Regions from separate parts of the Homo sapiens genome. Here regions 1, 2, 3, 4, 5 and 7 are each linked to region 6. The links are contacts of gene promoters, found by promoter capture Hi-C in blood cells and fetal thymus (Javierre and others, 2016). All regions are on one chromosome and are shown on one strand. Each heading gives the region's core, a stretch centred on a gene start or on the middle of the fragment in contact. The rest is flanking DNA. Distances are from core to core; before and after follow the strand shown.

Region 1 (3,785 bases), core at 481-2,980, 2.0 Mb before region 6:
TTTGACTTCCTTATCCATACTTTGGGAATAATAATACTCCATACCTCACAGGGTTATTGTGAGGGTTAAATGAGATTATCTATATAAAGTTCTTAGAACTTTGCTTAGCACAGTAAGTACTCAATAAGTTCTATCCATTCCAGAAACCTCCACCCTAGCTAAATTCATCTCTGTTAACAGCCGCACATGTGCTTTTGACTTTCCTGCCTCTGTGATTTCAGCTGCTCCTTTCACCTGCCTGCAATGATCCCTCTCTTTCCTTTTGGCTTTATCCAAGCTCTCCTTGTCCTCTATTGCTAAGGAAACTCAAGCAATTTCTCAGGACCTCTATGGCTAAGGAAACTCAGGTAATTGTTCAGGAGAACGAGACAGAACTCACCCTGGTTCCTACAGCTGAGTTACTGTGGGAGGTCACCTGGCTTCTCCACATTTCAGCCTTCCCCTTGGTGAAGTGCAGATACTTAACACAGACCTTGTGAAGTCATTGAAAGAAAAATTCTCAAATTCTGGCAGATAGTAGGTATTTAATGAATGATAGATATTATTAAGCCAAGCTAGTCCTTCCTACCTGAACTTTTCCCTCTGAACTCTTCTAGTAATTATTGATTCCATCATTTATCTGGTCATTCATTGACCATGTAGTACTTTGTATCACCTCATCTTTTCTTTCTTTTTGTCCTGCTTGGAATGATTACTGTAATCTTATGACTGCTTAGTTTTTTAAACATGCATAGTATCCTCCTCACTGCATTGGGGTTTCCTGGCGGGAAGACCCTGCACAGACATTTGTAACGTGACCAGAGTTTTAATGTGCAATCCCTCCATGCTAGCAGCTTGGTGAGGTGCTTACATTTTGTAGGACTTCATAGGCTTTTTGCTGTGGTATGTCGGCCTGGTACAGCCCAGGGCTTTGAGGCTGCAGCTCTCTCTTAAGTGTTTATTTTTTGCACCTTTGCCTTTGGGCGATGGACTCCCCCACCTAAAGCTTTGGACTTTTCCTGGCTGCCTCATTGACCAGTTGTGAGGCTGACACCAGCCTGTGAGTCCAGAGCTGGGTCAGAGCAGATAAGGGCTTGTTCTCAGAACCAGCATGGTGATCACTGTGTGTCTTCTCCTTATTTTCTTCTCTGTGAAAACATGTGCCTCGTAATTTGTGTTCTGAGAAATATCTCAACGGTCCTGTGCCCTAAACATTTCCTCATCTGAGATAAGGCCTGGATGTTGGCTCTAAGGAGGGAAAAAGGTACAGTGGAGAGGAAGTTCTGATCAGCAGGAAGATTTCCCAAGCAACGACACCGCCTCTGGCAGCAATGGCCTAGAAACTGGGCTGCCTTGGTGCAGACCGAGACCAAGGCCATTCCCAAAGGAGAGGCTGACAGCATTGCCCAGGCATCCTCTTCCCTGCCAGGCATGGACCTTCTGAGGGATGTGGGGGCTACTGCACCTAGAGAGAGGCACTGGAGCCTGAGAAATCAGTGCTTTGAGGCCTCAGTGGTGGGGCTGGTGGCTGAGGCTGCTACTGGTGGAGTTGACGGGCCCTGGATAAGACCCAGAGTTCAAGATTCTGGTCTTGGCCATCAGTTCCTCACTGTGTGATCCTGGGCATGTCACTTAATCTCTTTGGAACCCAGTTTCTTGCCTAGAAAATAAGTATGTCTTATCAGTGGTTTTAAATTTTTAATTATTTAAAAAATCATCAGAATGCTTTAGAACTTTTTTTTCCAAAAAGAATTGTATGCATATTCCCAGTTGATACAACAGATAAAAAGAACAGTCCTGTATGGAGGAGTTTGGGCCACCAGGGGCCTGTGCCCAGGTCCTTCCTGTCATTCCATGCTGCCATGCCTGTTCTGTTCCCCGGGACATGTTCATGCAAACCTGGCTTCCCCAACACATTTTAAGCCCTCTGGACTAGCTTTGTCCCCAGCTTTGTGTTCTGGGCCTACCAGTCAGCTTGGCTGATTTTCCCCAGGTCAGTGGTGATGGGAGAGCAGTGCTGGTGTGCGGAGAGAGGGCAAATATTTCACCAAAGGACCAAGTCCCAGACAAATCAGAGAGGATGCTGGTCAGTGTGCATTGGTTGAATATCAGTACCAGTTTTGTGTCAGAATGAGCTGTGAAATTTTTAACAAATACACCCTTCAGGGTCTATCCAGCTTCACTTGAATCAAAATTTGGGGCTATTATTTTGAAAAATAGGAAATAGGTATGTGCAGCCCCTCCTCCTAACAAATAGGCAACCCCAAATCAAAATACTAAAACCTTGATTCTGGAGCTTTGGATGGGTGGGTGGTCTCCAGGAGGTATCGTCAGAATAAAAGGGGTCTTAAGTTAACTTGGAGCATGGCAAGGGCAAGAATAACACCAATAATATGATGAAGTACTTACTCTGGAATAGGTTCCATGCTTAACATACCATGAAATAGGTGGATACTAGTTTCCTAGGGCTGTTTTAACAAATGACCACAAAGCTTCATGGCTTAAAAAATCCCCCAGAAATTTTTTTGCTTAGAGTCCTGGAGGCCAGAGTACAAACTCAAGGTGCTGGCAGGGCCACACTCACTCTGATGGCTCTAGAGGGGACTTTGTCTTAGCCTCTTTCAGCTTAGGGAGGTTCCAGGCATTCTGTGGCTTGTGGCTGGATAACTCCTACCTCTACCTTCATCTTTCTTTGCGTGGACTTTTCTTCTTCTCCTGGTGTCTGTCTTTCTGCGGTCATAAGGACATTTGTCACTGGATTTAGAGACAACCTAGATAATATAGGATGATCTCATCTCAAGAACCTTTACATAATTACATCTGCCAAGACCTTTTTATCAAATATGGTCACGTTCAGAGGTCCTAAGGATTAAGATGTGGACACAGGTATTGAGTGAGGGACAGCATTTAACCCCAACTTGTTATTAACACCAACTTAAAGATGAGAAAGCCCAGGTCTAGTCCATGGAGGTAACCTGCCCATGGCCACACCGCTGGTGAGTGGCAGAGCTGGGCTGGGACTCACCCTCAGGTCTGCTTTATGCTTGTCTTCTACAGAGCCTGTCACACAGACGTCCAGGGAGTATGTGGACCAGGCAGATGCAGGACAATCATTGGTGCCAGCTTGCAAGACTCTGCCTTGCCTACAGAGGGTGCTCAATGCCTGTCTGTTAGAGAGGTAGTTCTTGATTCTGAGACCTTGACCAGGACTTCTAGGGCATAGTGAATTAATCTACCTGCCTCTATATCTTTAGGATAGTGCAGGAAATGTCGGATAAATGAAACTGAATGCCTGGAAGAAGATAATGTTCTCATATGTCCGTGGACCTTTATAGGGTCGATAGCTTATAGTTAGTGCATAGATGCTATGGAAAAAGGCTGTATGGGAAGACAGGGATTCCTCTGAGAGACCCAGGTCCATGCTTCCCTTCTTGCTCTAGCCACAATCTGCTTGAGGGACTTCAGATCCATCACCCTGCCTCGATTTCCTAGTATATAAAGTGAGGCTACTAATGGATTTCACAGGGTGTTTTCATGTTTTGTTGACATACAGGGATCGGTCTGAAGGCAAGGGGAAGTAAAAGATAGAATTTCCAAGCTCCTCCTAGCCCTAGGGTTTTAGAAAAAAAAAGTTAATCATATTTTGCACCAGCAGATGTAAGCACATATTGTAACTGTGAGAATAACATGAAATAGAGGACAATCATGCTCTTTTACTTGGATTAGGTCAAGAAACATTTTGCTTAAACTTCAATTAGAGAGATGGAAGTTAGACAAGAATCCCTTTGTGATGTCAGCAGATGTAT
Region 2 (3,750 bases), core at 501-3,000, 1.9 Mb before region 6:
CTATAAATGGATGTGCAAGTAGGAAAGATATTGCAAAATTCTTTTCCTAGCAAGGAATATTAATATTAATACCCTGGGAAAGGAATGCATTCCTGGAGGGAGGTCTATAAACAGCCACTCTGGGAATGTCTGTCTTGTGCAGTTGAGATAAGGACTGAGATAAGCCCTGATCTCCTGCAGGCTTACTAGGGTTGGGAAAGCTCCGCCATGGTAAATTTGTGGTCAGACTGGTTCTCTGCTCTTGAACTCTGTTTTCTGTTGTTTAAGACGTTTATCAAGACAATACATGCACTGCTGAACATAGACCCTTATCAGTGGTTCTGCTTTTGCCCTTTGCCCTGTGATCTTTGTTGGACCCTTATCAGTGGTTCTGCTTTTGCCCTTTGTCCTGTTCCCTCAGAAGCATGTGATCTTTGTTAGGCCCTTATTAGTGGTTCTGCTTTTTGCTCCTTGAAGCATGTGATCTTTGTACCTACTCTCTGTTCTTATACCCCCTCCCTTTTTGAAAACCTTAATAAAAAACTTGCTGGTCTGAGACTCAGGGACATCACGGTCCTACTGATATGTGATGTCACCCCTGGTGGCCCAGCTGTAAAATTCCTCTCTTTATACTGTCTCTCTTTATTTCTCAGCCAGCCAACACTTATGGAAAATAGAAAGAACCTACGTTGAAATACCGGGGGCGGGTTCCCCCAATACTTTTGGTGTTTAACTCATGAAGTCTTTGCCCTTGCCTATGTCCTGAATGGTATTGCCTAGGTTTTCTTCTAGGATTTTTATGGTGTTAGGTCTTAAATTTAAGGCTTTAATCCATCTTGAGTTAATTTTTGTATATGGTGTAAGGAAGGGATCCAGTTTCAGCTTTCTACGTATGGATAGCCAGTTTTCCCAGCACCATTTATTAAATAGGGAATCCTTTCCCCAGTGCTTGTTTTTGTCAGGTTTGTCAAAGATCAGGTGGTTGTAGATGTGTGGTGTTATTTCTGAGGCCTCTGTTCTGTTCTACTTGTCTATATATCTGTTGTGTACCAGTACCACACTGTTTTGGTTACTGTAGCCTTGTAGTATAGTTCAAAGTCAGGTAGCTTGATGCCTCCAGCTTTGTTCTTTTTGCTTAGGATTGTCTTGGCTATGTGGGCTCTTTTTTGGTTCCATATGAACTTTAAATTAGTTTTTTCCAATTCCGTGAAGAAGACATTTATGCAGCCAACAGACATATGAAAAAATGCTCATCATCACTGGTCATCAGAGAAATGCAAATCAAAACCACAATGAGATAGCATCTCATTCCAGTTAGAATGGCGATCATTAAAAAGTCAGGAAACAACAGATGCTTGAGAGGAAGTGAAGAAATAGGAACGCTTTTACACTGTTGGTGGGAGTGTAAATTAGTTCAACCATTGTGGAAGACAGTGTGGCAATTCCTCAAGGACCTAGAACTAGAAATACCATTTGACTCCGCTATCCCATTACTGGGTATATACCCAAAGGATTATAAATCATTCTACTATAAAGACACATGCACATGTATGTTTATTGTGGCACTATCCACAATAGCAAAGACCTGGAACCAACTCAAATGTCCATCAGTGATAGACTGGATAAACAAAATGTGGCACATATACACCATGGAATACTATGCAGCCATAAAAAAGGATGAGTTTATGTCCTTTGCAAGGACATGGATGAAGTTGGAAACCATCATTCTCAGCAAACTATCACAGGGATAGAAAATCAAACACTGCATGTTCTCACTCATAGGTGGGAGTTGAACAACAAGAACACATGGACACAGGGTGGGCAACATCATACACCAGGGCCTTTTGCGGGGGGCTGGGGGAGGGATAGCATTAGGAGAAATACCTAATGTAAATGACAAGTTGATGGGTGCAGCAAACTAACATGGCACATGTATACCTATGTAACAAACCTGCATGTTGTGCACATGTACCCTAGAACTTAAAGTATAATAAAATAATAAAGAAAATTAACTGTGTACTTTCTGTTATTGTTTTGCATTACACTGTGAGCTCATTGGAAATAGCAGCTACCATTTATTGCATTCTTAAACTGGCCCTGGTATGGTGTCAAAAGACAGAAAGATTGGTCTCTATTGCCTAGTAGCCCTCATGCTAATCTTCCCATTAATCCTCATAACAATTCTACTTGGCTTTCTGTCATGTTATTTCCATTTTATGTATGAGGATACTGAAATTAGAAATATATTAAATGACTTTCCCTGGGTTACAAAGCCAATATGTGGCAGAGTCAGGAAGCAAACACAGATCGTTTAATCCCAGAGTAAACACATTAAACTGTTATAATTGTCTTAACTACTTCTCTACTCCAGTGGTTCTCAGTGATGATTTTGTGTCCCCCACTTATGGGGGACATTTAGTAATTTCTGTAGATAGTTTTGTTTGTCTCAACTTGTGGGGGAGTGTTGCTATTTAGTGTGTTGAGGCCAGGGATTCTGCTAAAAATCCTATAATGCATAGGACAGTGATCACTCCCACCCTGCCCCCAAGAAAGAATTATCTGATTCAAAATGTCAATAGTGCTGAGGCTGAAAAACCTTGTTCTATTCCCAGGGCTTACCTCAATGCCTTCCACTTAGTAGGCTCAATCTACATGTTTGTTGAATTAAATAGAACTAGCGAACATGAATTCATATGCATATATTTATATAAATTTAAATATTATGGTAATGAAGATCCTTACAAGTATACATACTTTAATCCTGACGGATTCTCCTGATCATAGAAACTCCACTGTGTGTGTCATCTTCATTTCCTGTGAAATCTGTAGCTTTGTGATGATGCTTCTCATTTATTCTATTCCGAGTCTTATCTCCTGTAATTATGCTGTCTCCTGGTTTGGCCATGGTCCCATGGATAGGAATTTCATGTTAAATCCTCCAGTTGCTGTACTGACTTAGAAAAGATTTGGGGTTTGCGTGTTTTTCTTTCTTGTTCCTCCCCTATCCTGTTGGAATTCATTGCATCATCCCTGTACTTTCCTAGCATGATTACATGGTATGGGCTAGCTGGGAGTTGGGGGAGGCGGGGGTCAATGTCTACTTTGGAGGATGGCCTGCCTGCTCTGGCCCACCAAAGAAACCCCCTAAATAATCAGATCTATATCAAAGCTCACTGAATGAAGTGATTGTGGCTGGAAGCCTCGGTTCCCATCCAGAAGATGACATATTCCTGAACTTAGTGATGTGGGCTTGAAAAGTTCTATTTCCTGTTGCAAACTAAATGGACTTTGCAAATCCAACCTGATTACATTACCCTATATCAGATTTCCAGATGACAGCTGTTGCTCAATCTTCTCCTACCCCCACCCCTGTTATGCTCTGGGATTTTTTAAATTAAAAATTTTAAAAAATGACAGCCACTTAAGAGTTTTGCTCATTTCCACAATTCCTAAATTTCTCATTTTTAGTTCATTCTGTCAAAATTGCCTTTGTTGCAGCTGCAATTAGGGAGAAAGATACTTAACTTGAGCTGCAATTAGGGAGAAAGATACCTAACTTGCATGGCCTGCTTTAGCAATAGAGTGATTTTTGGGAAAGAGCTGGGGAGTAGGGGAGTCATCTGGATCTGCAACATGATGAGAGATTGATTAGCTTCTCCAGTGAACCCTAAAGTTTGGTTGTAGGGGTAAACTGTGTTTGATCTAGCCAGGTTCTCCAAGGATGCACAAGGACAAGCTAGTGAGCATGGAAATTCACTCAGACCTACATCT
Region 3 (3,505 bases), core at 981-3,480, 1.9 Mb before region 6:
GTGCTTCTGTGCTGGCTGATGATGTTGGTTTGGATAGAATCCATGCAGAGGTGGTAATTTTCAAACCAGCTCAGTCCCATTATCTTACAACAAGCATTTACTGAAGGCATGCTATGTGCCTATCACTGTCAACCAGACAAGGACCTGCATACCTGTAAGTAAGACCATAGCCCTAGAGACTGAGGTCAGCTGAACTCATGAGTCCTGCTTTCCATCCATGGAGAGCCAAGGCTCTCAGAGTGTCCTTTGGGAACAGAGATGACTGAGCAGGGGTTCACCTAGGCTGGTTTGGAATTCACAGTGTTTTTTTTTTTTAATTACAAACTAGAAATCCAATTTTTTATAAAAAAGGATAAACTCGAAGTTGTAATCTCTAGGGAGACATTTATAGCATCTTCTTTGACTTCAGCATGTGAAAGAGTAAGGAAGGATAGTCCAGGCCAAGGAATCAACTTTTGCAGGGAAGGGAATTTTGTAGGGTAGTCAGAGGCCAGTGTGTCATTCTCTGCGGTTACAGTGTACTGTAGGTGGTGCGAGGTGACATAAGCAAAAGTGCCTGGAGCTTAGTGGGTGATGACTAAATCAGTATTCTTTTCCTTTCTTTCCCTTTCCCTAAGCCTCGGCTGATGCTTCTCTGTCAAATCAGGTTCATTGTCAGCCTGCTGGGTTTTTTTTTTTTTTAGTATATCGACTATAGTTAAGACTTCAATTTTTCCAATTAGTATTTTAAATTATATAATAATTAAATTCATCCTGTTAAAAAATTAACCCTTGTAAAAATGATTATTCTTCTCTCCAGAATGAAGTGCTGTTACATTTTTCTTACATATCCTTCAGAAAGACTTCTGTATATATAAATGTCCATATGTTTTCTTCTTTTCAAAATAAATCATATTATAAATTATCCTCTGTCCCTTATGCTTCATTTAATAAAGTAACAAAGAGCTCTTTATTATCAGCCTGTAAAAATCTGACTCTCTCTTCTAAACAGCTGCATAGCTTTCTGTGATGTATTTCACCAAGCTTCTTTTGTTTTCAGTAATTGTCTATTAAAATTTGCATCAGTGAATATTATTATGTGTATTTATTTGCAAACATATCTGTATAGTATATTTCAGGAAGCAGTATTTCTTGGTTAAATGGTATGTACATTATTATTTTTGAGAGATATTGCCAAATTGTCTTCTGACAGTAAATAGCCTCTACAGCAAATAGCTGTTTCCTCACATGCTCATCAATACTGGGTGCTATCAGACTTTTTAATATTTGCTGATATTATAAGGGAAAACTGGCATCTTAATGTTTTAAAGTGCATTTCTTTAAGTGTGAGTGAGGTTAGGTATTGTTTCATGTGTATTAACCATTCCAGTTTATTCTTCTCTAAAGCACCTGCATCTTTCTTGTCTTATTTTTTGTTAAATTTTATATCTGGTTTTTGTTGATTTGTAATTATATATTTCTGGTAGACAGCCTTGAGGAAGTGCCCAGTAATCTTCACCTCTTAATATTCATCATCCTGTATAATCTCCTCCTCTTGAGTGTAGGATGGACTTATCGACTCACTTGCAATGAATTCAGCACTGCAAAAGTGATGGGATCTCACCTCCAATATTGGGTTATAAAAAGACTGTGGCCTCTGTCTTGGGTGCTCTTTCTCACATGTTGATAGGTTGTCTAGCTCTTACTCTATTGGAATACAGCTGCCATGTAAAGAAGTCCAGGTTGTTCTGAAGGAGAGGCCAAATGCAGCAGAAGGCCCAGGAGGATAAGAGCTGACATGGGGGAAAACTCAGCCAACCTGGCTGACAACAAGCACCAACTGCTTTCCATGTGAGTGAACCTTGGAAGAGGATCTTCCAGACCGAGTTGAGCCGTCAGATGACTGCAGCTCCTGCTTGCAGCTTGACTGCCAGGATTAGACAGATTAGAAAAAGACAGACTGGGCTGGGTGCAGTGGCTCACACCTGTAATCCCAGCACTTTGGGAGGCCGAGGTGGGTGGATCACCTCAGGTCAGGAGTTCAAGACCAGCCAGGCCAACACGGTGAAACCCCATCTCTATTAAAAATACAAAAATCAGCTGGGTATGGTGGTGTGTGCCTGTAATCGCAGCTACTAGGGAGGCTGAGGCAGGAGAATCGCTTGAACCTGGGAGGTGGAAGTTGCAGTGAGCTGAGATCGTGCCACAGCACTGCAGCCTGGACAACAGAGTGAGACTCTGTCTCAAAAAAAAAAAAAATAAAAGAAAAAGAAAGACTGTGTTCTTTTGCTTATATTTGCAAATACAATCTGTTTGATATATAATACAATACTGGGGAATCCAGAAAAGTATAGAAGTATAGGGAAGTGAAACAGATATGCATTCAATTTCTAATTCTGTCTCTTATTGGCTGTGGTCTTAGGCAGGTTAATTAACCACTCTAAACCTCAGATTCTTCATAATATTGTTGCTATATGTGGGTCACATATACCCATATAAAGAACAGATTAAATGCATTTTGCAAGGGCAAAGACTTGCCTACTTAAAATTACCAATACTCCTCAGTACTCCTTAAGTTATCAATATGGGTAAGATTTTGGATGCAGGATGAAATTAAAATCCTAATCAAGGAATGTGGAAGTCCCAGCCAGAGCAATCAGGCAAGAAAAAGAAATAAAAGGCATCCAAATAGGAAAAGAAGAAGTTGAGCTCTCTCTACTGATGATACAATGCAATACCAGAAAAAACCCTACAGACTCTGCCAAGAAGCTCCTGGAACTGATAAACAACTTCAGTAAAGTTTTGGGGTACAAAATTAACGTACAAAAGTCAGTAGCATTTCTATACATCAATTACTTTCAAGCTGAGTGCCAAATCAAGAATGCAATCCCATTTAAAATAGCTGCAAAAATATTAGAAATACATCCAGCCAAGAAAGTGAAAGTTCTCTACAAGAACTACATAACACTGATGAAAGAAATTGTAGATGACAGAAACAAATGGAAAAACATTGTTAGACTCCCTATCATTAAATGGCTATACTGCCCAAAGCAATCTACAGATTCAACACTGTTTCTATCAAACTACCAAATGTCATTTTTCACAGAATTAGAAGAAACTATTGTAACATTCATATGAACCAAAAAAGAGCAAAGCAATCCTAAGCAAAAAGAATAAAGTTGAGGGCATCACATTATCCCACTTCAAACTATGGTAAAGGCAACAGTAACCAAAGCAGCACAGTACTGGTATAAAAACAGATGGATAGACCAATGGAACAGAATAGACAAGCCAGAAATAAATCTGTACACCTACAGCCATCTGACCTTCAGCAAAATTGGCAAAAATAAGCAGTGGGGAAAGGACTCCCCCTTTCACCATATACAAAATTTAACAAAAGACGAATTAAAGATTTAAATGTAAGACCTCGAACTGCAAGAATCCTGAAGGAAAGCTTAGAAAACACCATGCTGGACATCAGCCTTGGGAAAGAATTTATGACTAAGTCCTCAAAAGCCATTGCAAC
Region 4 (3,489 bases), core at 15-2,514, 1.9 Mb before region 6:
ACATGTTTTCATTTTTCTTAGGTAAATATCTAAGAATAAAACTGCTAGATTATATGATGAAACTGCCAGATTATATGATAAGTGTATGTTTAGCTTTACAAGAAAGTGCCAAGCAGTTCTCCAAACTGTTTGTATCATTTTACATTCTCACCAACAATGTGCAAGAATATCAGTTACTTCCTTGCCAGCACTCATATTGTCAGCCTTGTTAATTTTAGATAAATTTTTTTTTTAAAGAGATGGATTCTTGCTCTGTCACCCAGGCTGGAGTATAGTGAAGTAATCATATCTCACTGCAGCCTTGAACTCCTACTACAGCCTCCCAAGAAGCTGGGACTACAGGCATGCACCACCATGCCTAGCCCAATTTTAGACGTTCTAATGGATGTTGTATTAGTCCATTTTCATGCTGCTGATAAATACATACCCAAGACTGGGTAATTTATAAAGTAAAAGGGGTTTAATGGACTCATAGTTCCATGTGGCTGGGAAGGCCTCATAATCTTGGTGGAAGGCAAAAGGCACATCTTACGTGGCAGCAGGCAAGAAAGAATGAGAGCCAAGTGAAAAGGGAAATCCCTTATAAAACCGTCAGATCTCATGAGACTTATTCACTACCACGAGAACAGTAGGGAGGAACTGTCCCCATGATTCAATTATCTCCCAACTGGTCCCTCCCACAACATGTGGGAATTATGGGAGCTACAATTCAAGATGAGATTTGGGTGGGGACACAGAGCCAAACCATGTCATTCTGCCCCAGCCCCTCCTAAATCTCATGTCTTCACATTTCAAAACCAATCATGCCTTTCCATCAGTCCCCCAAAGTCCTAACTCATTTCAGCATTAACTCAGAAGTCCACGGTCCAAAGTCTCATCTGAGACAAGACAAGTCCCTTCCACCTATAAGCCTGTAAAATGAAGAGCAAGTTAGTTACTTCCCAAGTACAATGGAGGGTACAGGCATTGGATAAATACATCCATTCCAAATGGGAGAAATGGGCCAAAATGAAAGGGCTAAAGCCTTCGTGCAAGTCTGAAATCCAGTGGGGCAGTCAAATCTTAAAGTTCCAAAATGATCTCCTTTGACTCCATGTCTCATATCCAGGGCACACTGATGCAAGAGGTAGGTGTTTACATCCTTGGGCAGCTCCATGCTCCATGCCTGTGGCTTTGCAAGATACAGCCTGCCTCCCAGCTTCCTTCACGGGCTGGTGTTGAGTGTCTGCAGCACATGCTGCAGTGGATCTACCATTCTGGGGTCTGGAGGATTGTGGCCCTCTTCTCAGAGCTCCACTGGGCACTCTGTGTGGGGGCTTCAACCCCACATTTCCCTTCCACATTGCCCTAGCAGAGGTTCTCCATGAGGGCTCTGACCCTGGGGCAAACTTCTGCTTGGACATCCAGGCAATTCCATACATCCTCTGAAATCTAGGCGGAGGTTCCCAAACCCCAGTTCTTGACTTCTGTGCACCTGCAGGCTCAACACCACATGGAAACTGCCAAGGCTTGGGCCTTGCACCATCTGAAGCCATGGCCTGAGTTGTATCATGGCTCCTTTTAGCCATGGCTAGAGTGGCTGGGATGCAGGGCATCAAGTCCCTGGGCTGCACACAGCAGGGGGACCCTGGGCCTGACCCATGAAACCATTTTTTCCTCCTAGGCCTCCAGCCCTGTAATGGGAGGGATTTCCACATAGGTCTCTGACATGCTGTTGAGATATTTTCCCCATTGTCTTGGTGATTAACATTTGGCTCCTTGTTACGTATGCAAATTTCTGCAGCTGGCTTGAATTTCTCCTCAGAAAATAGCTTTTTCTTTTCTATCACATCATCGGGCTGCAAATTTTCCAAACCTTTCTGCTGTGTTTCCCTTCTAAAACTGGTTGCCTTTAACAGCACCCAAGTCACCTCTTGAATGCTTTGCTGCTTAGAAATTTCTTCTGCCAGATACTCTAAATCATCTCCCTCAAGTTCAAAGTTTCACAAATCTCTAGGGCAGGGATAAAAGTCCACTAGTCTCTCTGCTAAAACATAGCAAGAGTCACCTTTATTCCAGTTCCCAACAAGTTCCTCATCTCCATGTGAGACCACCTCAGCCTGGATTTAATTGTCCATATCATTATCAGCATTTTGGTCAAAACCATACAAGTCTCTAGGAAGTTCCAAACTTTCCCACATCTTCCTGTCTTCTGAGCCCTTGAGACTGTTCCAACCCCTCTGCCTGTTACCCAGTTCCAAAGTCGCTTCCACATTTTTAGGTATCTTTACAACAGTGCCCCACTACCTGGTACCAATTTACTGTATTAGTCTGTTCTCATGCTGCTGATAAAGACATACCCGAAACTGGGCAATTTATAAAGAAAAAGAGGTTTAATGGACTCACAGTTCCATGTGGCTGGGAAGGCCTCACAGTTATGGTGGAAAGCAAAAGGCACGTCTTACATGGCAGCAGACAAGAGAGAGAATGAGAGCCAAGTGAAAGGGGAAATCCCTTATAAAACCATCAGATCTCATGAGACTTACTCACTCTCATGAGAACAGTATGGGGGGGCCACCCCCATGATTGAATGATCTCCCATCAGGTCCTTCCTTCAACATGTGGGAATTATGGGAGCTACAATTCAAGATAAGATTTGGGTGGGGACACAGCCAAACCATATCAGATGTGTAGTAGTATCTTATTGTGATCATAATTTGCTTTTCCATGATAACTAATACTTTTGGGCATTAAAAAATACTTATTGGCCATTTGTAGACTTTGTGAAATGCTTATTCAAATGTTTTGTTCTTTTTTTGGTTTAGCTATTTTGCTTATTACTGAGTTGCAATTTCCTTCTATATTCTGAATACAAATTCATCATCAGATATATGTGTTGTGAAGTTTTCTTCGAGGATTTTCCAGGTATTTTCTCAATGATGTCTTTGAAATATGGAAGTTTTTAAATATTAATGGAATCTAACGTATTAGGTTTTTCTTTATGCTTCATTTTCTTGCGCATAAGCTATCTTTGCCTAACCCAATCAATGCCACAGATTCTCTCTCCTATGTTCTTTATAATTTTAGTGGTTATATTTAGGTATATAATTCATTTCAAGTTAATTTTTGTGAATAGTGTTAGGTAGATGTTAAGGGATTTTTATTTTTCCACATTAAACACTTAGTCTTATTATGTATGATGTTAGAGTAGGTTTTTCGTAGATGTTCTTTATCTGCTTGATGAATTTCCTTTTATTTCCAGTTTGTTGACTTCTTTTTTTATCATGAGGAGGTTTTGACATTTGTCAAATGCTTTTTCTGTATCAGTAGAGTTGGTTGTGTTTTTTCTCTTTATTCTGTTGATATGGTAAGTTGTATTAATTAATTTTGAACTTCAAAGGTGCTTTGAATTCCTGAGAGTCACAGTTTGTATATACTGTATTAAATTTCTCCTGAGCTGAGCTGGGGTCCTGACTTCCTTTTTTTTTTTTTTTTTTTTTTTTGAGACAG
Region 5 (3,804 bases), core at 290-2,789, 1.9 Mb before region 6:
CTTTACTGGAGATATAGAGGGATATTTTATGATAATCAAAAGTTCAATTCATCAGAAAGATGTAACCATTATAAACATATATGTATCTAACAAGAAAGCAGCAAAATACATGAAGTATAATCTGACAGAAATGAAAGAAGAAATAGATAATTAAAAACAATAGTTGGGGACTTCCATATCACACTTTTGGTAATGGATGGAACAAGTAGCAGAAGATCAACAAAGAAAGTGAAGAATTTAACAACATGATAAACCCGCTAGACTGCACAGAATCCTGTAGAGCACTCCACCTAACAACAGCAGAATATATCTTCTTTTCAAGTGAAGGATGCATCCTATGGCAGGCTATAAAACAAACCTCAATAAATTTGAAAGTATAGAAATAATAAAACCTGTCTTCCTTAACTGTAATGAAATGAAATTAGAAATCAATAAAAGATTTTCTTATATTTGAGAAACTCACAAATTTATAGAAACCAAACAACAGAGTAGCTAGTTCTTTAAACACATTAACAGAATTAATAAATATTTAGCTAAATTGACCAAAAAATTAGTGAAAATTCAAATTACTAGAATTAGAAATAAAAGAGAAACCACCGTCAGAGTGAACAGGCAACCTACAGAATGGGAGAAAATTTTTGCAACCTACTCATCTGACAAAGGGCTAATATCCAGAATCTACAATGTACTCAAACAAATTTACAAGAAAAAAACAAACAACCCCATCAAAAAGTGGGCAAAGGATATGAACAGACACTTCTCAAAAGAAGACATTTATGCAGCCAAAAAACACATGAAAAAATGCTCACCATCACTGGCCATCAGAGAAATGCAAATCAAAACCACAATGAGATACCATCTCACACCAGTTAGAATGGCAATCATTAAAAAGTCAGGAAACAACAGGTGCTGGAGAGGATGTGGAGAAATAGGAACACTTTTACACTGTTGGTGGGACTGTAAACTAGTTCAACCATTGTGGAAGTTGGTGTGGCGATTCCTCAGGGATCTAGAACTAGAAATACCATTTGACCCAGCCATTCCATTGCTGGGTATATACCCAAAGGACTATAAATCATGCTGCTATAAAGACACATGCACATCTATGTTTATTGCGGCACTACTCACAATAGCAAAGACTTGGAACCAAGCCAAATGTCCAACAATGATAGGCTGGATTAAGAAAATGTGGCACATATACACCATGGAATACTATGCAGCCATAAAAAATGATGAGTTCATGTCCTTTGTAGGGACATGGATGAAGCTGGAAACCATCATTCTCAGCAAACTATCGCAAGGACAAAAAACCAAACACCGCATGTTCTCACTTATAGGTGGGAATTGAACAATGAGAACACATGAACACAGGGAGGGGAACATCACACACTGCAGACTGTTGTGGGGTTGGGGGAGAGGGGAGGGATAGCATTAGAAGATATACCTAATGCTAAATGATGAGTTAATGGGTGCAGCACACCAATATGGCACATGTATACATAGGTAACAAACCTGCACGTTGTGCACATGTAACCTAAAACTTAAAGTATATAAAAAAAAGAAATAAAAGAGAAGATATTACTTTTGACCTTCTAGAAATAAAAAAGTATTGTATTCCAATAAATTATACAATTTGCATGAAATTGACAAATTCCTAGAAAGTCACAACCTACTGAAACTGACCCAAGAAGATATAGATAAAACAAAGAAAACCCCAAACAACTCAATTAAAAAATAAGCAAAGGACTTGAATAGACATTTCTTTAAAAAAAGATCTACAAATAGCCAATAAGCACATGATAAGATGTTTAATATTGTTATTTGATATGGTTTAGCTGTGTCCCCACCCAAATCTCATCTTGAATTGTAGTTTCCATAATCCCCACATATCGTGGGAGGGACCTGATGGAGGTAATTGAATCATGGGGCAGTTACCTCCATGCTGATGTTCTCATGATAGTGAGTGAGTTATCATGAGATTTGGTGGTTTTATAAGGGGCTTTTCCCCCTTGCTTGGCTCTTGTGTCTCCTGCTGCCTTGTGTAGAGGGATGTGTTTGCTTCCCCCTCTGCTATGATTGTAAGTTTCCTGAGGCCTCCCCAACCATGCAGAACTGTGAGTCAAGTAAACTTCTTTCCTTTTTAAATTACCCAGTCTTGGACAGTTATTTATAGCAGTGTGAGAATGGGCTAATACAGTAAGTTGGTACCAGGAGTAGAGGGGCACTCCTGTAAAGATACCTGAAAATGTGGAAGCGACTTTGGAACTGGGTAACAGGCAGAGGTTGGAACAGTTTGGAGGGCTCAGAAGAAGACAGGAAAATGTGGAAAAGTTTGGAACTTCCTAGAGACTTGTTGAATGGCTTTGACCAAAATGCTGATAGTGATATGGACAATGAAGTCCAGGCTGAGATGGTCTCAGTTCCCAACAAGTTCCTCATCTCATCTCACCTCATCTTAGCCCAGGCTCAGATGGAGATGAGAAACTTGTTGGGGACTGGAATAAAGGTGACACTTGTGATGCTTTAGAAAAGAGACTGGTGGCATTTTGACCTTGCCCTAGAGATCTGTGGAACTTTGAACTTGAGATAGATGATTTAGGATATCTGGAGGAAGAAATTTCTAAGTGGGAAAGCATTCAAGAGGAAGCAGAGCTTAAAAGTTTGGAAAATTTGCCACCTGATAATGTGATAGAAAAGAAAACCAGATTTTCTGGGGAGAAATTCAAGCCAGCTGAGGAAATTTGCATAGGTAATGGGGAGCCAAATGTTCATCACCAAGACAATGGGGAAAATGTCTCCAGGGCATGTCAGAGACCTTCACAGCAGCCCCTCCCATTACAGGCCACAGAGGGAAAAGTGGTTTACTGGGCCATGCCCAGGGCCACCCTGCTCTGTGCAGCCTTGGGGCATGGTGTCCTGCATCCCAGCTGTTTCACCTCCAGCTGTGGCTAAAAGGAGCCGAGGTACATACAGTTTGGGCCATTACTTCAGAGAGTGCAAGCCCCAAGCCTTGGTGGCTTCCATGTGGTGTTGAGCCTGTGGGTGCACAGAAGTAAAGAATTGAGGTTTGGGAACTTCCTCCTAGATTTCAGAAGATGTATGGAAATGCCTGGATGTCCAGGCAGAAGTCTGCTGCAGTGGTGGAGCCCTCACAGAGAACCTCTGCTAGGGCAGTGTGGAAGGGAAATGTGAGGTTGGAGCTCCCACACAGAGTCCCCAGTGGGGCACTGCCTAGTGGAGCTGTGAGAAGAGGGCCACCATCCTCTAGACCCCAGAATGGTAGATCCATTGACAGCTTGGACTGTGTGCCTGGAAAAGCCACAGACACTCAATGTCAGCCATGAAAGCAGCTGGGAGTGGGGCTGTACCCTGCAAACCCACAGGAGCAGAGCTGTCCAAGGCCATGGGAGCCCACCTTTTGCATAAATGCAACCTGGATGTGAAACATGGAGTCAAAGGAGATCATTTTGGAACTTTAAGGTTAAATGATTGCCCTCCTGGGTTTTGGACTTGCATGGGGCCTTTAGCTTCTTTGTTTTGGCCAATTTCTCCCATTTAGAATGGGTGTATTTACCTGATGTCTGTGCCCCCATTGTACCTAGGAAGTAACTAACTTGCTTTTGATTTTACAGGCTCATAGGCAGAAGGAACTTGCCTTGTTTCAGATGAGATCCTGGACTTGGACTTTTGAGTTGATGTTGGAATGAGTTATGACTTTAGGGACTATTGGAAAGTCATGATTGTGTTTTGAAATGTGAGAACATGAGATTTTGGAGGGGCTGGGGTGGAATGATATGGTTTGGC
Region 6 (3,686 bases), core at 918-3,417:
AGGAGGGGAGCCAGGGACGGCCGGGGCCCGGCGGTGGCGGCCGCGAGCAGCACAGCTCGGGGGTCCTCAGCCGTCCAGACCCTCGCATTATAAAGGGCCGGTGGGCGGAGATTAGCGAGAGAGGATCTTTTTTCTTTTCCCCCACGCCCTCTGCTTTGGGAACCCGGGAGGGGCGCTTATGGGGAGGGTGGGGAGGGTGGGGAAGGTGGGGAGGAGACTCAGCCGGGCAGCCGAGCACTCTAGCTCTAGGATGTAAACAGAGTAAGAGAGCCGCATGAATTAACTACGCGCGCCTACCATTTTCTTTTGCTCCCTCTCAAACCCTCTCCCTTTCTCTGCTGCTCCTCCGTAGCAGTACTGTTTGACAAACCGCATCCTTGTCCTGTGAGTATAAATCATCGCAGGCGGAACAGCTGCCCTCCACACCGAGAACGCACTGCGCGCCCACCGCCACGCCACGCGCGTACCAGGCTGCAGGGCGCCTCGCTAAGGCTGGGGAAAGGGCCGCGCTTTGATCAAGAGTCCCAGGGAGAGTGGAGGAAAGAAGGGTATTAATGGGCGCGCGTTCAGAGCGTGGGATGTTAGTGTAGATAGGGAGGAATGATAGAGGCATAAGGAGGAAAACGATGCCTAGAATGATTAAAATAACCCAGCAACGCATTGCCACGTATACTTGGAGAGCGCGTTATGAATAAACTCCCATTGCATTTGTTGGGGGGAGTCATGTATTATGCATTATGTATGCACAGCTATCTGGATTGGATACCTTCCACCCAGACTGAGTCCCCCAATTTGCTGCCAAAGCAGCAGATACCGCCCCTCCTGCCCCGCCTGCTCAGGCTTCCGTGGGGCCCCGTGCGGGAGGCGTCTGTTTAGCCCTGAGATGTGTCTGCCTGTTCCAGAGCTGGGCTAGGGCGAGAGGGAGGTTGCCTGCTCTCTGCCAGTCTGTACCCCACCGTCCCACCCCCACGCCTCCCACACGGAGTTCCCAATTTCTCAGCCAGGTTTCAGAAGAGACAAATCCCCTTTGCGCCCTGTGGCGCCGGTTTGCAACAGTCTCGGGCTGCCGGGTTTGGGAGAAATCAAAGGTGCTAGACGGGAGAATATGGGAGGGGCAGGGGGTACCCGAACCGCGGGACCGGACTTCCTAAAAGGGGCAAGTGGAGAGCTTGTGGACCGAGCCGGGGGAGTCAGCAGAGACCCTTGTGAAAAAAACCGTTAACTCTTTCCTCCCCGGACAAACCGGACGTTTAATTCCTTTCCAGGTCCTCTTTCCCCTTTTATTATTGGAAATGCGGTCATGCACAAAAAATGCATCGATTCTGATCAAAGAAGAGGAGAGGAGTATTACTTCCGTGCCTTTTTTTGGGGGGGGGGGAGTCTTGAGCTAATTAAAATTTGGCTGCCTTCCAGGCATTAATTTCCTAGTTCACTGACTCACAATTTTTTCTGAATACTAGTGAAAGTGCACTGTATGTAACCCGCAAACGTGTATTCACATTTTATTTACGCTTCGACTTAGCTAGTTGCCCAGCCCCACACATGATTTGTTTGCTCCCTGAAATGATCTATATTTAATATATAATGTATATTCCCTCGGGATTTTTTATTTTGTGTTATTCCACGGCATGAAAAACAAAAAACATTCTTCTCATCCTTGGTCCCTCACCCAAAGGCATTTTAAGTAAACTTTTCTCTCCCTCCACCACCTCCAAAAGAGAAAACAATTCGGGGGAAAGGGGTGCGTGTATAGCATGTACGCTGTTCAAGATGGGTTATTACCCGTTGAGTTTGCAGCTCAGCGTTCAAGTGTTAAGTGAATATAGTAGCTTCCAAATCCGATGCACTGCACAATTCAGCTTTAAGGATTGCAAATTACTCCTGCCTCCAGGCCTTTGCCGCAAACGCGGGGAGCAACCAATCGCTATGCTGGATTTTGCTGCAAAGCGTCTTTCCCTCCGCCCCCTCTCTGGGCAGCACCCGCGTTCAGGTTTGCGAAAGTAAAGTAAGTGTGCCCTCTACTGGCAGCAGAGATCATCGCGCCTGGATGTCAACGAGGGCGGGGGTCAGGTGGGGGCAGGAGCAGGAGCGTCCGAGGTGCAAGGTTTCCAGCGGGGGAAGGACAGGCGGTTCCTTAAAACAAGTTTCCAGCCACCTCCTTGTTATTCTTTCAGGTTGGCTGCAGAAGGTCCGAAGAAAGAGGAGTTACTGGAGGAAAAAGTGGTTCAGAGGTGACTATTCAACCGCATAAGAGATGGTGAAAATTAACCTATCACCACTGCTAATGAACATCACCCTATGGAGAACCGGTAATGGCAAACGTGAAATAATTCACAAGTACATAGACGAAAAAAAAATTCCAACAAACCCTAAAACGGCCAAACAAGCTTTAGCCCCCACGTCTTAGAAACTCATCATCTTTTTTAACCACAAAATTTGAAAGCAAGACACTGGATTTATTGGGGAAAGGGGAGGCACAGCAGAAGGTGATGGGTATTTGGTTTGGCCTATTATTATTAATTATTATTCTTATTATTTTTGAGACAGGGTCTCCTTCTGTCACCCAGGCTGGAGTGCAGTGGCACAATCAAAGCTCACTGCAGCCTCGATCCCCCCGGGCTCAAAGCAAACCTCCTACCTCAGCCTGATACCCCAGCCCAGTAGCTGGGAGTGCAGTGCACCACCACACCCGGTTAATTTTTTAAACTTTTTGTAGAGAGGCAGTCTGGTCATGTTGCCCAGGCTGGTCTCAAACTCCTCGGTTAAAGCGATCCTTCGGCCTTTGCCTCTGAAACTGCTGGGAATACAAGTGCGAGTCATCGCTCCTGGCCTTGGCTTATTATTTTTACTTTTAAAATATTGGGCTGGTGAATAATAAGTGATTTTTTTTAATAGCAAGAAGGGGTATTTGAGATCTCATAGAAAAAAAGTGTGAAGGAATAGGAGCATTTTATTAAAGGTTTTAATACTAAAATGAGTATGCAATAAGGTTGAAGTAAATGTGAAGGAAATTTACCTGGCACGTGTCCCTGGTCAAGTAGGTTTTTACGGGGCAAAGAATCCCTGACGGTGTCTGATCACTTAGATGCCCTAAGGACTTCTGGCAGTGGAGGTTCCTTCCCGCAGGAGCCTTGTAGGCTGATTTCCCAGGAATCTGGCACTTTTGGCATTACTCTAATTGAAGCTAAATGAGTGCTCTCCACAGGGGCATGCACTCCCCGCCCCTCAAAGAAAACCCTCAACAACAAACAAACAACAATGGCAAAACCAAAAGTAGGTCCAGCTTGACCTCATAGGGTAGTTTTTGAAAGTTGCTAAAGATGGCGGATATACCACATCTTCGGATCTGACTCTCAAATTATGCCAGTCCAGTGTAGGGCATGTGAACCCCAGGCAGATATAATGCCTGTGGGTTCAGAACTTAACCTCACTCTCCCTCAGGCTGGTGACATCACCTGAGGTGTTACTTTCAAGTAACAGCTTGGAGTTGTTTTGTGCCATCTCCATTTTTACATGAGAGAAAACAAAGCCAGACCTCAGCCAGGTTAAAGGACATAACTGATTTTCTTTTAGTAATTTTTGAGACATATTTGACCTAGAATAGACATTTGCTGGGTTGAAAAATGGCTGAGATTACAACTAGTATCATGTATAACTACCAAAGTGATACGTGTCCATTGGAAAAA
Region 7 (3,357 bases), core at 750-3,249, 1.9 Mb before region 6:
GTGCAGGCTTAAGGGGCGACTATGGGATAGCATTTAAGATGTGTGCTCCAGAAGCAGAAGGGTTCATCTCAAACTCTCTTGAGGTGAAACTGTGTGAAGTTAGGGCAATTTGAGCTCTGGGCAGAAGGGAGCACTCTTGCACTGTCTCTAGATTGTCTTCACCAGTTGGGAGGAGGGGATGCATTTTTGTCTCTATTGTCCAGTATAGTCCTTGGGTCACTGTGGGGATGGTGAGTTACCTTTTATCCATTAGCTGGGACTGGCCATTTCATGATTCCTCAAAATGCAAAGCATCCTGGCCCAGCTGACTTTGCCAGTGTTTTTTTCCAGGGCGGATAGGAGCTGAACACCGTGGCTCAAGTGGCAAATGAAGAGTCCAGCACAACAAACAGCCATCATATGGTGCAAATAGCAGGAGAGACCCCATTGCCACCTGATTTCTGCATGATCTATTTGTGGTGGCATGAGGCACTACAGGAGAGGTACCCTGCTGCCTTCCAGCAGTAATGGAAGAGATTATGTGGACTATGTGTTCTAGGAAATAAACTTTTAAGACTCCAGCTGGCTCGGCAATAATATAGGTGGTTCTAACGACACTGCTTAGTTATGGGAAACCATCACTGAAGAAATGGGCCCATTTAGTATCATCTCCCATCTTGTCATGAATATCAGAAGCCTGGAAGACAGGGATAAAAAAATGGGTGAAACATGTTTGGCATCTGGAGTTTCTGGAAAGTGCAGCCAAACCTCTTCGCTATGCTTTGTGTTGGTTCTGGGCTGATTAAAGTTATCCACATTGTACCTCTTTCTTGCTACTGCTTTTAACTTTTTATTTTGACAAAATTTCAGACTTTTTAAAACATTGGCAGAATAGTACAAGGAGTTTCCCTCGTGTTAATAATTTACCAACTTTACTTAATTTAATATATATGTACCATCTATTATATATGCCATATATTTTTATATGATACCATATATTTTCATATAATGCCATATTTTTTCCTGAATTATTTGAAATGTATAGACATAATGTTCTTTATCCCTAAAGACTTCGATGTGTACTTTCTGAAAATGCATTTTGTTACATAAGCACTATTGTTAATCATCAAAACTGGGAAATTAACATTAATACAAAACTATTACCTAATCTACAGACCTCAGTTGAATTTCACCAATTGTTCCAGTTTTATGCTATATGGTAAAAGAAAACACTGGATCACACATTGACTTTATTAGTGTCTCATCTTTTTAAATCTGGAACAGTTTTCTGTCTTTTATGACAATGACATTTTAGAAAAGTACTGGTGAGATTTTTGCAGAATGTTTCTTAATCTGAGATTCTCCAGTATCTCCTCATGGTTAGATTCAGGTCATACATTTTCAGCTGGAATATCATAGAAGTGATGTTATGTCCTTTTTCATTCATTATTATCAGGCTGCACATGATGTCAATTTCCCTCATTATTAGTGATGTTGACTTTATTTGGTGAAGATGGTGTCTGCCAGTTACAGTAAATGCTGCCGTAAAGGCGTTTTCCAACCTTTCCCTTTGTAATTAATAAGTATCTTAAGAGGTACTTTATTATGTGAAATTTCTGTTACTCCTCATACTTTAAGCTACTAGTTTTATCATCATTGATGATTCTTATCCTGAATTGATTACTATTTTGAAGTTTGCCAAATTGTTGTTTTCTATTTCCATCATCCTTTCCACGTTCGTTTGTTAGCTTTTTGCTGTAAGGAGATTTCCCTACTTCCACATTTATTTACTTAAAGGACCTCTCCACAATGGTTCAAATCCTTGAGCACACCTAATATGAGATCGCGATCAGGTGCTAACATTGTGCTTTGTCATTTATAAAGAATGTTAACATCCATTTTTCTCATTTGTTCTTCACAGCCAGACTATGTGGAAGTAAGTGGGGTTCTTCTGTTACAAATGAGGAATCTGAGGCCCAAGAAAGTCCCCTCAATCATCACTTATGTTACACTGTATAATCAGGATTTGACTTTGTGAGCTCCCTGAGAGCAGGGCAGGTATGTTAGTTACATTTAGATCTTCTAAACGCCCAACCCAGCAGGCGCTCAATACTGAAACAATGAATGGATGAATAAAAGAGTAGGAAAGCATTCTGATCTTCTAAATCATTTCCTTACCTTCTTGTTCATTCATGGAACTCTTCCCCTGTTATAGCAAAGCCTAATGATGGAAATTCCCCTGGGAAAGGCAGAAAACGATGCAATAAGAGCAAGAGCTTTGCTGCGGAGGGTGAGGAAGGGCAAATAACAGAATAGCCTGGATCTTTGCATGTCTGAGAGGGAGATGGTGGCATTTACCAAGTGGAAAGGGCACAGAGAGTGGCAGGTATGTCCAGGTCCTAAAGAGTGGTTGTTCTGGCTGGGCGTGGTGGTGGGCACCTGTAATCCCAGCTACTTGGGAGGCTGAAGCAGGAGAATCGCTTGAACCTGGGAGGCGGAGGTTGCAGTGAGCCGAGATCGTGCTGCTGCACTCCAGACAGTGAAATTCTGTCTCAAAGAAAAAAAAGAAAAAAAAAAAACGGGAGGCAGGGAGGGAGAGAGAGAGAGAGAGATTATTCTAACAATTCCAGTAAGGGAGAGTGGCAGTCAAACAATCCAGTGCTTAAGTGCCATTAACCAGGCTGGGCGGGAGGTTTTTGCCAGCTTCCAGTGGAACTCATCTGGAACCTGGTGTGGTGGTTTTATGATTTCCATCTGAACTCTTGAGAAGAAACTTAGGGCCCCTAACTCTGTTTGCTTTTTCAAGCCTTTAGCCCCCAGTGCACCTTACTGTGGGACACTGAGTGAACAAGAACAAAAGTTAAATTAAAAATAATTCTAAAACATAACCAAGAGCCTGGCCCCAGAGTATTATGGAGGCTTGGCCACCAGGTTATGTTAGGAGGAGGGACTGGCCTATGCAAATTTAATTCCTGTGAGGTTTTTATTTTTAGGTTCACACATTTCTGGGGGTGACTGATCTTTGACTCAAGATTCCATTATTTCACTTCATTTAGGCCTCAGTTTTCTACTTTTTGTATAAGAGGATATTAGGTCAAGTGAGGGCTTGACAACGTTAGAGCTATAATAAGTGAAATGGGCCAGAAATAAGTAATAGTGAGTGGCAGGAGTTGGGGTGATATGGTGACCACCTGCCCAGTCCATAGGGACAACTACTATTTAGCTCCAGCCATACTGGAATGCAGATGTGGTGTTGATAGATATTCATATTTTAAAAGAGAAGCAAGAAATACAATTCTGTGCATGCGAGATATCCTGATTTATTATAAATATTGGCAGCTACATAAATTTTTTTAATGCTGTGCAGTTTAAACAAAA

What was found. The method cuts DNA at HindIII sites, captures the fragments that hold promoters and counts their contacts. A CHiCAGO score of 5 or more calls a contact.
Region 1: a fragment that was not itself captured here is called in contact with the fragment with the promoter of CASC11 in region 6 in 9 of 17 cell types (erythroblasts, megakaryocytes, neutrophils and 6 more); the score reaches 31.7 in erythroblasts.
Region 2: a contact is called between a fragment that was not itself captured here and the fragment with the promoter of CASC11 in region 6, in 1 of 17 cell types (neutrophils). The highest score is 8.9, in neutrophils.
Region 3: a contact is called between a fragment that was not itself captured here and the fragment with the promoter of CASC11 in region 6, in 3 of 17 cell types (neutrophils, erythroblasts and megakaryocytes). The highest score is 7.2, in neutrophils.
Region 4: a fragment that was not itself captured here is called in contact with the fragment with the promoter of CASC11 in region 6 in 5 of 17 cell types (monocytes, neutrophils, fetal thymus and 2 more); the score reaches 14.1 in monocytes.
Region 5: a fragment that was not itself captured here is called in contact with the fragment with the promoter of CASC11 in region 6 in 1 of 17 cell types (neutrophils); the score reaches 6.4 in neutrophils.
Region 7: a contact is called between a fragment that was not itself captured here and the fragment with the promoter of CASC11 in region 6, in 4 of 17 cell types (megakaryocytes, erythroblasts, neutrophils and 1 more). The highest score is 28.6, in megakaryocytes.

Annotation. Positions count from the first base shown.
Region 1 is chr8:129,686,927-129,690,711 of GRCh38, reverse strand. No RefSeq gene overlaps it. Among named protein-coding and RNA genes, the nearest start is that of CCDC26, 8.6 kb to the right of the region's middle. RefSeq lists a cis regulatory region at 1,018-1,352 and an enhancer at 140-2,352. The HindIII fragment of the contact is 1,486 bases long and covers 988-2,473 here.
Region 2 is chr8:129,643,873-129,647,622 of GRCh38, reverse strand. The region is part of intron 1 of CCDC26 (CCDC26 long non-coding RNA); the gene reads left to right. Among named protein-coding and RNA genes, the nearest start is that of CCDC26, 34 kb to the left of the region's middle. The HindIII fragment of the contact is 9,204 bases long and covers 1-3,750 here.
Region 3 is chr8:129,624,298-129,627,802 of GRCh38, reverse strand. All of the region lies in intron 1 of CCDC26 (CCDC26 long non-coding RNA), which reads left to right. Among named protein-coding and RNA genes, the nearest start is that of CCDC26, 54 kb to the left of the region's middle. The HindIII fragment of the contact is 2,410 bases long and covers 1,026-3,435 here.
Region 4 is chr8:129,667,614-129,671,102 of GRCh38, reverse strand. All of the region lies in intron 1 of CCDC26 (CCDC26 long non-coding RNA), which reads left to right. Among named protein-coding and RNA genes, the nearest start is that of CCDC26, 11 kb to the left of the region's middle. The HindIII fragment of the contact is 6,843 bases long and covers 1-3,489 here.
Region 5 is chr8:129,603,148-129,606,951 of GRCh38, reverse strand. All of the region lies in intron 1 of CCDC26 (CCDC26 long non-coding RNA), which reads left to right. Among named protein-coding and RNA genes, the nearest start is that of CCDC26, 75 kb to the left of the region's middle. RefSeq lists silencers at 3,018-3,206, 3,043-3,243. The HindIII fragment of the contact is 6,206 bases long and covers 1-3,804 here.
Region 6 is chr8:127,732,448-127,736,133 of GRCh38, reverse strand. It overlaps CASC11 (cancer susceptibility 11), which reads left to right and starts at 2,167. Exons shown (of 4, transcript NR_117102.1): 1 at 2,167-2,309. It also overlaps a transcript of MYC not described here. RefSeq lists silencers at 1-187, 1,973-2,092, a cis regulatory region at 675-3,417 and an enhancer at 2,997-3,498. The HindIII fragment of the contact is 10,989 bases long and covers 1-2,389 here.
Region 7 is chr8:129,583,996-129,587,352 of GRCh38, reverse strand. The region is part of intron 1 of CCDC26 (CCDC26 long non-coding RNA); the gene reads left to right. Among named protein-coding and RNA genes, the nearest start is that of CCDC26, 95 kb to the left of the region's middle. RefSeq lists an enhancer at 1-629. The HindIII fragment of the contact is 5,873 bases long and covers 1-3,357 here.